2 separate regions of the Homo sapiens genome follow, and region 2 is linked to region 1. Evidence: promoter capture Hi-C in 16 types of primary human blood cells and fetal thymus (Javierre and others, 2016). All regions are on one chromosome and are shown on one strand. Each heading gives the region's core, a stretch centred on a gene start or on the middle of the fragment in contact. The rest is flanking DNA. Distances are from core to core; before and after follow the strand shown. Region 1 holds the start of HMGA2-AS1 (HMGA2 antisense RNA 1). Region 2 overlaps MSRB3-AS1 (MSRB3 antisense RNA 1).

Region 1 (3,044 bases), core at 139-2,638:
GAAATATTTACAATTTTCAAAGAAGTGGCCTTAGCAAAACTGTTAGTACAGCCCTTGATTTGCAGGTGAAAAAAAAGCAGTGCATAGACATTAACCTAAATTCAAGTTAGGATTAAGGTCAACATTAAGGGGTAAGCAGGACATAGCACAGTGACTAAGTGCATAGGAGCATTTATTAGCTGAGTGATCTTGAACAAGTTATTTAACTTCTCTCTAAGTCTCACTTTCCTCATCACAAAAGGAAGAAATATTTCATAAGGTTGTTGTGGAAACTGAGGTAATATATAGACAGTACTTTGCACAATACCAGACACCCAGTAAGGGCTCAAGAAATGGTATTGTTGTTATCCTTATCTTTAACAAGTGATTCACAACCAGTTAGTGTCAGAACAGGATGCAAAGCACTTTTGGAGTATCTGTTGCTATAAACCGAGTTCCTTATCCTTTGCATCTATCTGGGTCTAAGGAGGCAAGATCACATAGCATTAACATTTTCCACAAATGTGGTGTGATCCATCGCCTTTCCTCTTCTTTCACCCCTAGAGTAAGCCTTCAGCCTCTTAGGAAGTGTTTTCCATCAGAATTTAGCTTTGAAGTTGAACATTTTAAACTCTGTTGGGAAGGTTCAGACGCACATTGACAAAGAAGATAAACAAAGAGTCAGGAAATCTAAACGGGGAAGATGCCATGGCTCACATTACCTGCTTCCTCCTAGTTGGAGTTGAGCTCTTCCTGGAAGCGGGGCAGAGTCTGCCATTTGATTAAACAATTCAACATCAAAGCTGAACAAAAACATATAATCAATCTGATCTTAATTCAAGTGTGCCTACCCCTCCTTGTGAAAAGCAGCCTTGTTTTAAAAAATATTTCCCTAGCAGATCAGGTATTTTTGAACAACTCCCTATCGTTTCTGCTTCACTTCCATCTCAAGTTCTGGTTCACATAACTAGCCAACATTTACTGAGGGCCCATTAAGTGGCCAGGCATTGTGCCAAGTGCTTTGTTTATGCTTTCTCATTTAATTGTCACAACAACCCTTAGAGGTATTTTCTCATCCCCATTTTACAGATGAGATGGAGGCTGGGGAGAGTAAGTCACTTGTCCAGGGTTACACTATTAAGAGCTGAGCGATTAAAACCAAACAGCAGTGGGGACAGGCCCTCAGGAGACATTTCTACTCCTGGCTTGGTCACTGCTCAGATACGTCACATGTCTTCTAGGCCTCAGTTTCCCGGCTTGGAGAGGATGCAGCCTCTCTAGAAGTTCCCTTCCACAGCCTGCGGCAGCTTCCCAGGGCGGGCGGGCTGCTTTGTTTCCACACTCAGCTGCTGTGGCTGGGGCCTCCCTGGGCTCTGCCCTGTTTTGTTTTTGCTGCTGGACCTGCTACAGACGCAACCCTGGCAGCGCAGCCCGGAGCACAGCCGAGGCTTCCTCTTTCTCTCAGTTCCTGGCTGCTTCAGTATGAACAGAAAAGGTGGGCAGGGGCCAACTGGCAGGAGCCTCCGAAATAGCAGCACATGATCCTCCTACCAGCAGCAGAAAGGCCAGCCCGCAAGACCTCGCCGCCTGCCCAGCTCTGTCATTGACTAAGGTTGCTTTTGTCAGTACAGCCGCCAGGGGTTTCCACGCTCATTCCCCTCCGGACAAGGTGGACAGCTTTGGTGATAGACAACTGGGAGGTAAAACTCCACAGAGCCATGCCAGCGACTGACCGCCCAGGGACAGGAGATGGAGACGTTCAGCTGCAAAGGCTACGGAGGAACCCCCGCAATTGGAATCTCTCCATGCCTTCTGCAGCATGGAAACATACTCCGGGACCTACCGGGGCTCTCTCGGGCCACCTCTGAGTGCAAGGGAAAAGAGTGCAGTTCAAGGAAGGGAATGTGTCTGTCATCCCACCACTTGCGCGCAAGGCCAGTTCCGGGATCAGCAGGCTTCCTTCACCAGCACGGGCTCTTCATTAGCAACCACTGGGAGGGAATGTGTGCGGAGTCAGTGAGTGAAGCTCTCCTTCAGCAATTTCTCTCCTCCTCTCATATTTCTCCCCTCTCTCTCTCTCTTTCTCCCTCCCTCCCTCCCTCCCTCCTTCGCTCCCTCTGGGTCCAGGACAATACTCAGGCCAGGACAGTTCCAGTCATAACTGGATCTTTCCATTACTTGGTAGCACACAGGAGGATTTGTTGGAGTGGTTTTTTGTTTTGTTTTGTTCTGCTACTATTAAGCAAGATTGCTTCATAATCCTTTAAGGGTTTTTTTTAGCCAAGTCTTATTTACATATCCTGGCCAGCAAGCACGTGATTAACCCAAGGATGTTGGAGGGAAGGCAGATGCTACATCTGAAAAAAATCTGATTATGTTTCATTCTGGAGATACAAACAGCCGAGCTGTCAAAAGGACAACAGTCTCTTGGGCCAACATGACACCAAACTCTCAAACTCTGGAGACCCTCAGAGACAAGGAGGAGGAGCTGCTGAGGTAGGGGCACAGATGCGAGGAGTTCTTCTCCCTCTCTCCTTCTCTTTCACTATCTCCACTTTGGGGGCAAAGTGTCAGGATAGCCAGAGGTACACATAATCTAATACATGGAAATGGTGGTAAACTGCCTGTCAATTCACCGCACCACCATAATATGTCTAAAATGTGGTGCCTGTCTACAACTTACATGCCACCCAGAAAACAAGCTGCACTGGCATTTCTGCATTGACAGAAAGGACATTTGAAAATTTTCCCTACAGGCATTATTTCAACTGATATTTACGAGTGGTTTTATGGGATAGAATCGTGCCAGTCATATCAAGGAACTTTTCATATCTTTCAACCCATGCTAAGATAAATAGAGCCAGTTATGATTATTCTCATTTCTTGAAAGGTACCTAATGATCCACCAGAAAGTTAAATGAATCCTCACTTATCAGAGGAATTTTTTTTTTAAGTAAAAGAAACCTAAACCCCAAGACCTAGACTCCTGGAATAAGAATCTCTTTACCAGTGAAAATTCTTAAACATTAAATAAGCATTTACCGGGAGATATCGATGAGGTCTTA
Region 2 (3,044 bases), core at 279-2,778, 350 kb after region 1:
CCCTTTTGGTTGAAAGGAAGCATGGTTCAGAAGAGTGTACCACTGAACTTCAGGGAAGCCTGACGCAGAGGTCTTTTGAGAGAACTGAATAAACAGCTGATAAAACAGGAAGGCTCTCAACCCTTTTATCTGATGATAACTTCGAAGCTGCGATGGAGCAAGGGTAGTCCTTCTGACCAAGGTAGCAAAGCCAGACAGTGGCACCGACAGGCCTGCAGCCCTAATCCCCTGACTTCCTGCCCATGTTTTCTCCCCACTTTCTACCCCCATTCTACGACTATAAAAAACACACAAGGCTCTCTTTACCACATTCCTCAGGTTTTAAAGCCACTGCTCCCGCTGTCCTGCCTCCCCACTCCTAATACTTTTTTCTTTCTTTTTAACATTTGAGGAAGAAAATGTTATGGTTAACTGCATTTGAATTCCACAATGTCACTGTAACATGTAATAAATACCTTTTATTATTTATTACCAAAATGCTTAGGGGCTGTGGAAGACTAAAGGCTATTCTGTTCTTTCTGATGCAGCTCTAACAAGTATATTCCAGTTACTTGGGGGAGGGGGCACAGCGGGCTTGGTAATTTAATCTTCTCAATGCCACAGGCCATGTCTCCGTGATTCTGCTAGAATTGTATGTGACTGGAAGATTTGTTTTAGCTCAATCTTTGCAGCCTTGAGGATGGCGGGTTCTCAAAAACACCTATCCAGCCCAGCAGCACTACCTGAATGAGCAAGGGGGAAACCCAATGAGCAAGGGTCTGGGTCGCCCCAGAATCCACAGCAATCAGACAATTCTGTCTTAGGGTAAGGGCTGCAGAAAGCACTGCACATTCAGAGTTAGCTGGGCAAACTCACTTTGGGGATATTTTTGGCACTTTTAAAAACGGTGGCTAAAACGACCCAGAGACTATGAGCCCTCCACACCCCACCCCCCATAGCTTTTCATACCTGCAACCCAGGAATTTTGCTTGCACTAAAAAGGCATCTTCCAAGAGGACCTATGAACTTAAAACAAATGCTGTTTAATTTGCCATTCATTAGGGGTGTATCTGGATTGATTTATTGCACCCTTCTGACCCCATGTCTTTGGAACAGCATTCCTTCACGATTACACAGGGAAAGGACTCAGGCAGGACTTCCAAGGATAAGCGTAGAAGGCCACAATAATACTTCAGATTGCTGTGTATCGGGTAGCCCGAAGGAAATGCTTCGCCCAATTCAACGCACAATGCGAATGAGCCAAAAAAGTTTGTAAATTTTTTGACCCAGGTTTCTCGAGCCTTTCCTAAGGGATGTGGCCAGCACAGACGACTATTATCCAGATTATGGGCTTTTGAGTACTTCCACATTCAGGATATTCTGAGAATGTCTAACCACACACAATTGATCACAGAAATTGCAATCCCTTTTGATCCTGAGGAAGGAGGAAGTGAGCTCTTCCTGGTAACTACCCAGCAGCAGCAGAGACAGGAGGAGGGAGGGAGAGAGAGAGAAAGAGAGAGAGAGAGAGAGAGAGTGTGGGGAGGAGGGAGAAATGCACCAGGGAGAAAATACATTTCTACTGGCAGCTCAATACGCCAGTGGTAATCAGAAAATGAGAAAAACTTTGTAAAGCTCTCAGAAGAGCCAGGCTACAACAATTGCCCTTTAGAAATGAGATCAATGGCCTCTCTTGTGGGTGGCACAAGTATAATTACAGCAATTAAGAGAAAAGACTACAGTCTATTTTTTTTTTTTTTTTTGCTCTTAATGTATAAACAAGCAATTCCGGCACTTGTAAGCCAAAAAGAATTGGTACATGGCTTAATACTATCTACTACTATGACTCTCCTTGCTTTAATTGGCTTCCAGGAAAATTTCATGAGCCTTTGTGGTTGTGGTTTAGTTAAATACACACATTTACCTAGAGGCAGGCTGGGGGAGGAGAGCAGAGTGCTTTCACTGACTATCCAACTCCCAGCAGACCAGTTAGCCCCCAGGCTGCCCGATCAGAGTCCGTGAGGCTGGGAGGAGAGGGATCCTGGCTGAGGGCCTGTGCTCCTGTACTTCCCGTGATGCCTTGAATACTGTGTTCCCCTTGGAGCAGCCATAATTTCATGTGACCTCTACGTCCTACATTCCTCTCCCAGTCTCCCTTCCTCCTACCCCTAAATGGCTTGTGTTGGGGTGTCTAGCAAGCATCCAACTCTTGTTTTGTTTTTCCACTGAAGCCCAATGGCCATAGAAGAAGTAAAGAGGAGTCTGAGGCAGTGGATGAGCTGGAAAGTTTCTCATTTTTTGTGGTTGGGGGCTACTAGGAAGCCCCTCTCAGCTCCAGCCTCCTCACCCAGTGGCTAACATTCTACTATTTGTGAGTGGCTTCCCTAAGGATTGCTTAGGATTTATTGGTGCAGTTAAATAAATGAATCCCTGGCTATCCACCATGGAACGCAGCTACATGGAACTGCTGCTGTGAAAAGAGCTTGATTGCAAATCAAGGCCTGCAAATTCTCTAGAGGATGACTTCTGACCTCTCCCTGAAGAATTTGGTGCATGCTTCATAGTCTAGCTGTAACTCAGGTCATCCTAAACATAGTCTCTGCACATAGTGACAATCCATCCAGCTATTTTCTCATGATGCAATAACGGACCAGCAGACAGAAATTTAATTTTATTGATAGAAATTTATTTCTTTTGTTTAAGAATTGCCTTACATTGCATTTTTGAAATGCAAATGCCTTTGCTTTCCTATTTTGGTGCCCATGCAAAATAAGAGGAACTTTTCTCAAGATGAGGCTGATAGGGGAAATGTCCCTGGCTAGGTTGGGAGACCTGAGCCCTCCTACCACCTCTGTGGCTGTTTGGTTAGGGAACCAAGAAGCTGCCTATGTGGGCTTTCTCATCATCTTGTACTCCTAGGGCAGCTCTTTCTTGCTTATCCAGGCTGTCTTTCTTACTGAATTTTTACAGGAAGCTCTCACTACTCCCTCATACTCTCACAAAGCTCACCTAATGGTCCTCTTGATGATTCAAAAGAGGCTAGAGCTGGTCAGGAACAGCTGGTA

What was found. Contacts are between HindIII fragments. The CHiCAGO score rates a contact against its expected background, and 5 or more counts as called.
Region 2: a fragment that was not itself captured here is called in contact with the fragment with the promoter of HMGA2-AS1 in region 1 in 1 of 17 cell types (endothelial precursors); the score reaches 6.5 in endothelial precursors.

Annotation. Positions count from the first base shown.
Region 1 is chr12:65,880,669-65,883,712 of GRCh38, reverse strand. It overlaps HMGA2-AS1 (HMGA2 antisense RNA 1), which reads left to right and starts at 1,388. Exons shown (of 3, transcript NR_158985.1): 1 at 1,388-1,995. The region is part of intron 3 of HMGA2 (high mobility group AT-hook 2); the gene reads right to left. The HindIII fragment of the contact is 6,963 bases long and covers 1-3,044 here.
Region 2 is chr12:65,531,832-65,534,875 of GRCh38, reverse strand. The region is part of intron 2 of MSRB3-AS1 (MSRB3 antisense RNA 1); the gene reads left to right. Among named protein-coding and RNA genes, the nearest start is that of LINC02454, 70 kb to the left of the region's middle. The HindIII fragment of the contact is 7,122 bases long and covers 1-3,044 here.